Linked DNA regions of Homo sapiens: region 2 is linked to region 1. Evidence: promoter capture Hi-C in 16 types of primary human blood cells and fetal thymus (Javierre and others, 2016). All regions are on one chromosome and are shown on one strand. Each heading gives the region's core, a stretch centred on a gene start or on the middle of the fragment in contact. The rest is flanking DNA. Distances are from core to core; before and after follow the strand shown.

Region 1 (5,245 bases), core at 1,274-3,773:
GAAGGAAATTAAGTGACTTGTCCAAAGTCAACCAGCGAGTTCTGTGGTAGAGCCAGGAGATACACCAAAGTCTGTGCATTTAACCTTACACCATGCTATCCCTACCCTCTTGCCTTCCCCTTCAATGTCAACCTAGAATTCTCTAAAGTTTAAGTGTCACTTATATGTAAACCATTTTGAAGGGTTCCTATGGGATAAGTGGAACAGGCCATTGCTGACTTGATATGATCGTGTTAACCAAGGCTTTTTCAGTGCACTGTATGTGCAAGGCATCATGCTAAACATGTGCATCTTCTTTTAATCTTCACAGTAGGCCTGAGAGAGCAGTGCAATTATTTTCTCTCTAACAAATGAGCAAACTGAAGCACAGGGAGGTTGAGTAATTGGTCTAAGGTCTTATTAGAAATTGACATTTCTAACAGCATTTGGATCTTGGCCAAGAGCTCTAAGATTTAGTCTCTGAGCCATACAAGATTTAGATGAATTGGGAGCCATAACAAGACCCTGCCTTAAAATTTCTCCCCCACTTGCCTGCCCCACAACCTGAAGCAAGGATCCTGTGACCCTCTCTAGCATTTAGGCATTGCTATTTGTTTCCAGGGGACGAGTGATACTGGGAACAGCATGTATTTAGTTCCTTCAAAGTCCTATGCCAGATGATACAAGGCACCCAGAGGTGAGCAAGACCCAGTGCCTGCCCTCCAGAGCTAGAGAGGGGCAGGAAGGGGATAACCAAGGCAGGTGCAATCAACAATAAAAGTGAAGTACCAAAAGCATCTGAGGTCACGCTACTCCCCTGCCTAAAATCATTCGCCAACAGCCATCACCAACAGGACACAGCCTGCTTCCCTCAGCAAGGCAGGTACAGCCACTCCTCCAACATCTGCCCACCTACCTCCTTAGCTTCATCTCTGCCTCATTGTCCCAAATCCTGTGCAATAGCCGTGACATATGACAGGCATCTCCATGTCTCTGCCTGCCTCTCTGTGCCCAGTCTTCTGTCACCCCTTCAATCTGACCTAATTTGTAGCCCTCCTTCAAGACCTACCTTGGTCACATTTGTATTTTTTATTGTCCCCCTCCTTCAGCGTAGTGACTCTACAACACTTTGTCAACCTATTATAACACTTACCCTAAAATGAAATTATTTACAAATTTGTTTCTTCAAAGGCAAGACCAGTGGCTTATTCCTCTTTTGCATGTGGCATGCTCACCCAGCACAGGGACACACCAGGCTCTCAAAGGCTGAAGGAAGCCAGAATACACATCTCTGCACAGTGCCAGGACTCTTGGGCCAGGCTAGCAGCCTGCACTGGGCACTAACTGAAGCCCTTGGGGATAAGTATTTGTAAGTTTGGGAGAAGGAAGACCTTTGGAAGAACCAAAGGCAGACCTGGGCCACCCTCAGTTAAATGGACAACACTAGTCCAGGAAATGATAAGGAAAAAGGCTTTAAGGTTCATCTCCTTCAGAGGTTTGCCTGGGCTGGCCCCATCATGGGTAACTTGTAAAAAATAGGTCGTGATACAATTTTTAAATTATTTTATTTATTTTTTTGAGACAGAGTCTTGCTCTGTCACCCAGGATGGGGTGCAGTGGTGCGATCTTGGCTCACGGCAGCCTCCACCTCTCGGGTTAAAGCGATTCTCCTGCCTCAGCTTCCTAAGTAGTTGGGACTACGGGCGCTCGCCACCACACCCAGCTAATTTTTCTTTTTTCTTTTCTAATTAGAACAGAGTTTTGCTATGTTGGCCGGGCTGGTCCCGAACTCCTGACCTCGGGTTATCCACCTGCCTCGGCCTCCCATAATGCTGGGATTACAGGTGTGAGCCACCGCGCCCGACCACAATATTGTATTTACTGTATTGCATTGTCTGCCTCCCTGCCACACAGCGTCTTCCAGGAGCTTACCAGTCCTCTGTGCATACCCCAGTAAGTAGCTCAGGCAGTGCATGACGCCCTCACCTTTCTCTAGGTATTATTGTATTTTAAAGCATCACTTCATTTAGTCCTCTCAACAACTTTTTTCCCCCCTTCTTCTATTTCACATGTGAGGAAATTGACGTCCCGAGGGTTAAAGCAAGTTACCCCATGACCGGGCTCCATACCCTCCGCGCCCCTTTCCCTGCGCGGTGGCTGTCCCTTCTCGGAGTGCAGAGGCTCCTAGTGCTCCACACTCTCGGGCTCCAAGGCCCCCTAACGCGCCGTGATAAAAATAATAATAACAATAACAACAGTGCTGCTTTATTTGCACAGAAAACAGGTTGTTTCGGGGCAAGGTACACTTGAGAAGGAGGCTAGGAACCGGAGAGAAGCAGCAGGCGGGGGCGGAGGGCGAAGGGAGGGAAGGGGAGAGGGCAGGGGCTGGCAGGCGCTGTGTGCCGGGCGAGGAGGCCGGGGCGGGCCGGGGCGGGGAGCGGGCGAAGCGCCATTGGCCCGAGCACCCGGGACCGGCCCCACCGCACCGCCCGCCGGGGGCGGGGGTAGCGGGGAGGGACTCGCGCACGCCGCTCTGCGTTGACAGTGCCGGGCGACACCCGGGCCGTGCCGCCAGCGTCCGTCGGGAGAGTGAAGGCTCGCAACGCCTTGCCCGGGGGAAGGTAACGCGCCGCGCCCGGGGCTGCGCGGTTTGCACCGCCAGGCCGAGGGCTGGGGGCCAGAAGACAAGAGAGACGGCGAGGCGCGCTCCCTGCCCGGCAGCGACTCGGAGGTGCGCACTCGGGTTCCAGTCTCTACTTGGCCCACTCGCTGTGTTACCTCGGGCAACTTTGTTTCCCTCTCTTGGTCTCTGCTTCCTCCTCTGTTAAGTGAGGGAGGTGGTGTAGAATGTTGTTCCTTAGTCTAACCAGTTCTAAAATGGGAACTGCGTTTTGGCACGGGGAAAGCTCCTTTCCTCAGTTTCCCACCTACTCCAGAGCCACCTCCGCTGCCCAGGCGGCCAGGAAGCTGGGATGCCCGGGTAGGCGAGGGTTCTGCTGAGCTATCGCGTTTTCTAGGGCTTTCAGGGACTGACCTGGGCTTGGGGCTGGGTGCTGGGGAGACCTGGCTGCAGAGTAACTGCCCCCAGATTGCTCAGGTGCAGAAAGGTAGGAGCGTCAGCACCTGTTTACAGGTGGGGTGTTGGGAAGGGCCGGCCAGGGGATGATGATTTCTCCTTTGAAAATAAGACGTGTTTTGGAATTCTCTTCCATACCCACACCTCGTCCCACGGCGAGCTATAAACTACACGAGTGGGCTTTATCATCCTTTGAAGTGGAAAAGCGACTGTTTTTAGCGTCTAAGACACAGGGCTCCACCAGCATATAGGAAGTGGGTCTCTCTTTCTCTGCACCCATCCTGCCGCGTCTTCCCTTTCTTTCCTCCTCTCTTTATAAATCCCCTTTGACCTTGAGGGGCTCCACTTCCTGCCTTAATGAAAAGTTCTTCTTTTCATTTAGTGCTGGTTTGTGACCAGCAGCCTCCAGGGCTTTGGGCGCAGGGTTGAGATAGAAGCCTAGATAAGAACAGGCTATGAATCACCCTGTCAGCCCCCTGAGCCACACAGCCCGGCAGGGATGTGCAGAGGAAGCCCGGTGGGGCTTCAGACAGATAGACCCTGGAAGGTGGGGTGGATGCAAACTGCCATCCAGCTTCCCGTCCCCTTGTTGGCAGCCATTCCCCACCAGGATGGTGACCCCTGCTGTCTGCTGGATGGAGCAGCCAGATAGAGTAGGATGATTGAAAGGAGCTGAGGACTTGGCTGGATTTCTATGGAAGGTCTCCAGCATTTCCCTTCCCTCACTTTCCTCCACCCCTGAAGTTCTGCCCCTTCTCACCCTTAGTGTGGTATCCAGGTGAAATCAGATTGCAGAACCCATCAAGAGCAGCTAGGAAGGAGAAGAGGTGTGGGGACGGCAGCAGGGCAATGTTGACTGCTGTTTAGTGGGCACTTACTATGGGCCAGACACTTCTTTGTATGTAATATATCCTTAATTCTCACAAAGCCACATGAGGGGTGATGTACTATACCCTATTTTATAGGTGAGAAACAGGCTCAGAAAGATTGCTTCCTTTAGTCACTTAGCTAGGAAGTAGCATAGCTGGAATTCAAATCCAATCTCTGATTCTAAAACCTGTGTTCTTTACACTGTCTTTGTGCTCCTTAAGTAAGAGCAAGCTGGAATAAGGAGAGCAAAAATGTCTAACATTGTGTTCTCACCAGGTGTCAGGCACTATGCAAAACATCTTAGAGCTATTATGTCATTTATGGTGCAGGAGTTTCCGTTATTCTGGAGGTAATCTGTGACTGCCTTAGCCTCTCAGCAGCAGTACTGTTCTAGAAGGCCTACCCTAATCCTGCCCAGCTGCTAGTGCGTGGGTGGGGCAGGGCCCTGTTTGCTTTATCCTAGAGGTGGTTTGGGGTCTAATGAAAGATTGATTGTCCACATCTGACCCGTTAGCCCTAACCGTTGGCTGGTGAATGATTCCACTGTCCCCTAAGAGGCCTTTTTCAGGTTTTGCTCAATAAACATTTGTGGAATGAATGAATTAGCACCTTGTGCAGAGTGGTCTGCTGCCTTGTAGAAATGTGAGGCAGCCTAGGGGAAGCCCAGGTTCCACCATCTTCAAAACCCAGATGCTAGTCTAGGTGTTTCTCCTCTTTGGGCAAGGGAGGTAGGGTGAACTGTGCCTGTATAGGCTTCCAGAGCTCCCTGGAAATATGTTTGCTTGTCACCTGTTTTACAAAGAATTTTTAAACATACAGTAGATGAAGAAAAATGTGGCTTTTTTTTTTTTTAAATTAAGAGGAAAACTTACTTGGTATTAATGAGGTTGTCACTCTCTCAAAAGTTGGGGGGATAAGATTATAATGTTTGTCTTAGGGCTTACCAAACTTTTCCATAGAAGATCCTGCAATGGAAAAGAAGACCAACACATGCTCCTGTGCTTATGCAATTTTTTTCATTTGATTTCATAATATATGGACTTTGATTTAAAAATATAAAGTTTTTTCTTCAAAATATCTGAATAAAACTGGTGTCCTGGCAGATTGTTATATATTCTTAGGGGCTTCGAGTACCCAGATGGAGAAGTAGGACCAAGGTTCTAGAGGGCTTAGACTACTGTTTGAATTTTCCACTCTCTGGTTCACAGTAATAGAGCTTCTCTAGTCCCTGGGGAGACATCCACTTTTTTCCCATTTTTCAGAATGAAGAATGTTTTAAAAATAAAAATATCCTTTATTTTCTTATTACCAAAACTAAAC
Region 2 (5,245 bases), core at 1,692-4,191, 150 kb before region 1:
TTAGATGCAGTCTATCTGCAATAAGTAGGATTTGTTGTTGCTGTTGTTTTAACTGTAGGTGAAAAAGAAAATCTGCTTCAGAGAGAAACCAAGTTCATCTTGGAGATAAGTGTGGATGTTGGACTCCCTCCAGCTCAGTAACTGAGGATCACTTTACTTGAAATCGTTGTGCTTTTGATTGGCCGTCCGTGGTTGCGCTGAAGAGGGAGGAGGGGGAGTCTTTCCAGTAGTTATACCTTAATTTGTCTCTGCATGGATGATATTTGAAACCTCAAGCCCAGGCATGCTGCTCTGTCCTCCCATCTGTAGCTGCCTGCGTGATTCCATCATTGTTCCATTTGTCTCTTCCCATTGTCTTTGAACATTTGTTTTTGGGAACAAGATATGCATTAGGAAATTACTCAACCATGAGTATAACTGATGCCTATAAATTGATCTTGGCATCCAGAACAAGTTGCATATACTAGTGATGTAATATTTGCCGAAGCTCATTGGCTGTTCATTCTCTGTAGTGCTTTTCCGAAAATAAATAAATAAATAAATAAATAAATAAATAGGTAGAAAGAAATGAAATCACTTGGCACCAGCAAAGAAATCCTCTATAGGATTTGAATGTTGAAGTATGAATTGAAACTATTTCCAGTTAGTCAACTTTTATTACTCACTAGGACATCCCTAAAAGAAAAGCTCATTTTGTAATAGTCCTGTGCTTATATGCTTTGCAATCTTATACAGAGGGAGAAAAAGAATTAAAAGCTTGTTCCAAAGTAAAAAGGTTCATGTCGGGTTTGAAACGCTCATGTCAGCTTAATGAAGGATACATGTATGAAAATTAATATCTTGGTTCTTCAGGAATAGTCTGTGTTTGGGAGAATAAAGATACATACTGAATTCAGTTGTTTACTTGCCTTACAGTATATTCGAATTAAACAATAGGACAGATTCTAAGAATCAAGTAAATTTGTCCAAACAGGAAGCAGAATCAAAGATCTTAAGTATTCCCCATATTCAGGGCAGTATGTGGACAGTTACAGTAGGTGACCTCTAAGGTCCCTTTCACCTCCCACAGTACGTGTGTCAGCTGCAGTTCGTCAAGATAAATGAGCAGGAGACAACTTCGTGTAAAAAGTGTGTGAACCTAGGACAGGACTTTTCGACCCTTATGAAGAAAGAAAGGAAAGAATATTGCAGCTAGATGTGTTGGGTCCGGACTGAGGTCAGAGTTGCACAGCTTTGGACAGATAGCCTGGACACAGGAAACCATGTTCTCTCAATTTTAAACAAAAATGCAATTATGTATTCCCTCCCCTATCCCCCCACCACCCCCCATACACACATTAAAATTCTTAACCATGGGTCAGCTTATATCGACCTTTTGGGTAAAAGACATTATTCCTTTGAAACTTCAGAAGCACGAGTTTGTTTTCTGAAAAACACATGCCATTGCATACCTTTTAACTTGACATATGACTGAAACTTTTGTCTTAACAATCCATTTTCTACAAAGACTGCCCTTATATTTATTAAAGATGACAAAACCAAAACCACTTCTTCTTTCATACATTTTCTGCTTTCATGTTCTGTCATTCTGAGATCTTTTTTTCTTTCCCTCTCTCTGTCTTCTTTTCCCCCAGCTGTCGGCAGCATCCAGCCCCTCCAGTCACAGTCCTCACAGAGCTTCAGGAAAGGACCCCTTTGCAGAGCTCTCTTTGGAGGATTTCTTATAAATCACTTTAGGTATTGCTACTTGTTTTGGGAGATGGGGACTTAAATACTTAAAAACAATTACCAAACATTAAACACAATTCACGCTTCTCTTTCATTTCTTTAAAGGACTCTAGGCTCCCTCTCCTCCTCCTCCTCTTCCTCTATTCTTTAGGTGCAGAATGAAAAGATAGGACATAAGGAAAAACAACTTTTGGAAAATATCTGTAACATAATTATTTAAAGTAATCTCATCCACTGCTCACAGTAAATGGATGAGATCGGATAAAGTTTGCTTTTTAATTAAGGGCAAGTGAATACTTAAGCCCTTTCGATTAGAAGGATTCTGCATATGATCCACACTGCCTCTGTTTGCTGGAAGACAGTGTAATTTGTTCTTCTTGATGCTCTAGCCCCCAGTTTAGATATACCTTCTAGATCTTTGGGAGTTTATAGTCTTCTGATTTGGCAAGTTTATTAGCACATCTACTTCAGTAATCTTTGGATGGGCAGTTTAAGGGAAATTGTGAGTGAAATATCTTTGAATGAACAGTAGTACCCTATTGAAAAATATTTTTATGGCTCTTTCAGGTTCTTATTTATGTTAATAAAAAGACTTAGTATAATATTACTGTTCCCTTTATTGTCTCTAATTGTATATCATTTGGAAATAATATTTCAAATTTTGCTTCCCAAATGAGATTTTGCTTGTGGTATTTGTGCTTATGGAGAGATTTTTCTGAACTTGTCATGAAAAAATAGGTCATTGATCTTCTTTCTTTTCCTCCTCCACATGCTATTCCTCTATTTTTAGCAGTTAAGTATTTGGCCTGGATGTGGTTGCTTATGCCTGTAATCCCAGCACCCTGGGAGGCTGATGCGGGAGGATCACTTGGGGCTAGTAGTTCAAGATCAGCCTGGGCAATACGGTGAGACCCTAGTCTCTACCCCCACCCAAAAATTACCCAGGTGTGGTGGCGACTGTCTGCAGTCCTAGCTATTCAGGAGGCTGAGGCAGGAGGGTTGCTTGAGCCCAGGAGTTCCAATGAGCTTTTTTTTTTTTTTTTTTTTTTTGAGATGGAGTTTCGCTCTTGTCTCCCAGGCTGGAGTGCAGTGGCACGATCTCAGCTCACTGCAACCTCCACCTCCTGGGTTCAAGCCATTCTCCTGCCTCAGCCTCCCGAGTAGCTAGGATTACAGGCGCCCGCCACCACGCCTGGCTAATTTTTGTATTTTTAGTAGAGACGGGGTTTCACCATATTGGCCAGGCCAGTCTCGAACTCTCGAACTCACCTCAGGTGATCTGCCCACCTCAGCCTCCCAGAGTGCTGGGATTACAGGTGTGAGCTATGGTGCCCAGCCATTGAGCTTTGATCATGCCACTGCAATCCAGCCTAGACAGCAGAGCAAGACTCTGTCTCAAAAACAACAACAAAAAACATTATTTGGAAGTCCCTATATGTGTCAAATATTGAGCTTTCTGGCACATAAGTTGATAATACTGACTTTGTTTTATAAACAGGGTTTGTGATAAGCATGTTGTGAACACTTCTGGGCCAGTTAAATGGTAAAGACCACAAAGCATTTTTATTTATGAGAAGACATCCTACAATACAATGAATTAACATACCCACTTTTTTTTTCCAGATACAGTTTATGTAACTTGATGGAAGAAAATGGAATTACTCCAAAAAGACAAGTGCTCAAGCAGCAAAATCCTTACTTCCAGCAAAATCCAAACTGCTGTCTCTTAAATCTCTTAAACTCTCTTCTTCCATTAGAATGCTACAAGTAACTCAGTGAAGGCCCATGAAGGAAATTGGGACTAGTTTATAGGAGAACGTATCAATACAGTTTATAAAGCCAAGAATTGCTATGATTTAAGACTAAGATCTGTCTTTTTGGTGACTAACCCTTCAATTCTTTCAACTCCTGTTAATACCCATAATCAGTAACCTATCAAGAAAAGCCCTTATTTGGAAAGTGTGAAATTTGTATTTGGAAAAGCTGCCTGGAGAGAAGAACTGTGTCCTTTACTGTATTTCAACAGGACTCTTTTGGGGGATCAAAATTAAAATTCCTAATTATGCATTATCTTTCTTTTCTCCAGTCCTCACAAATACAGAAACAATAACTGAAATTAACTTTTCTTTTTTTAAAAAAAATTATATTCAGTTTGCAGTAGACATTCCTTAAGTATTTGTATTTATTTATGATTATCAATTTTACATAACATTAATATTGTATCAGACCTCCTTATGAAAATGAGTATGGATGTGCACAGTATGTTTGATTTTTATCCACAAGAATGAATCTGATTCAGAATGCTTTTCTCAGCTGACATACAGAGCACTAAATATTTTAAGGCAAGTCCATAGGTCTGAATCTCTTAAGAATTCTCGGCCTCTGTGGGATTTAGGGAAGCATTATAAATGCATTAATCCTTATAGTCAATTCTGTGCCTAGGATTTTGCCAGGGAACAGTTCACTGACTAGGAAAAGCACTACATTTTAAATTCAGCATTAGTGCATTGGGAAGGATCTTTACTGCTTTGTGCTTGGCATGTCATTATTTTCCATTTGACATTAGGGCCTTTCCAAAATGAATGTGAGGAATTGCTTTCACTTCAAGACTTTCCTTCTTTTCACTAAAACTCTAGAAGGTGTTACAAGGGGGAGGGAAGGGGGGCAAAGTCCTTGAACATTTTCTTTGGCTCGTGCCATGTTATGATCATATACCTTTTAAATAAGGGGAAATAGTATCTTTAAAGTTAATGTCTAGCCAAGAGTTTAGTAAACGAAGAATTAAACTGCACTGTTGATCGGTGCTTTGTGTAAATACATCTTTAACATTTGGGTGGAGAGGGGCCTTAAGAAGGACAGTTCATTGTAGGAAAGCAATTCTGTACATGAGTTTAAGCATTCTTGTTGCATTGTCTCTGCAGATTCTATTTTTGTTTACAATATTAAAATGTATGTTAGCAAAATGGGTGGATTTTCAAATAAAATGCAGCTTCCACAAAAGTTTTGTTATGGTATTCTGGTCTGAGATGCATTTTCATTTTTCCTTTCTCTTTTTATTATCAATATTGTCATTTTTCCCTAATAAAATATACCCAGGTGATTATATTTGTTGATCTAATAACATGGAAGGTTTGTTTTATATGAATTTTCAAAAAGATGTCTCTTTACACTTTTTGTTACCTTGTAGACTCTTATTGATAAATGCAACTACTTATTAAAATTGTTCACTTTTTGTCTTTTGATCAGATGCCTTTAGTCAGGTAAGTTTAAGGGAAAATACGCAGTTTAATGTTTTGGTACATATAATTATGTCTGCCAAAGAAACCTTTGATTGTATCATATTGCCTATTTAGTAGTGCATAGGGTTCAGAGTACATGATAAAGGATCAAAAGCTTTGCATTGATAAGTGTCTCATAATATTTGCTGTGATTGGAGAAAAAATGTAGTCGTAGCCAATAAATTTTATCAGCTTTTAAGTTTCAGTATTATTAAACCATTTTCATATAAACTGGGAAG

The links. The method cuts DNA at HindIII sites, captures the fragments that hold promoters and counts their contacts. A CHiCAGO score of 5 or more calls a contact.
Region 2: a contact is called between a fragment that was not itself captured here and the fragment with the promoter of SYTL2 in region 1, in 1 of 17 cell types (naive CD4 T cells). The highest score is 5.3, in naive CD4 T cells.

The regions. Positions count from the first base shown.
Region 1 is chr11:85,808,419-85,813,663 of GRCh38, reverse strand. SYTL2 (synaptotagmin like 2) reads left to right here and starts at 2,523. Exons shown (of 20, transcript NM_206927.4): 1 at 2,523-2,710. RefSeq lists a silencer at 2,385-2,564. The HindIII fragment of the contact is 7,624 bases long and covers 1-5,245 here.
Region 2 is chr11:85,957,167-85,962,411 of GRCh38, reverse strand. PICALM (phosphatidylinositol binding clathrin assembly protein) reads left to right here. Exons shown (of 20, transcript NM_007166.4): 20 at 3,352-5,237. The coding sequence ends at 3,366. Among named protein-coding and RNA genes, the nearest start is that of CCDC83, 100 kb to the right of the region's middle. The HindIII fragment of the contact is 4,365 bases long and covers 759-5,123 here.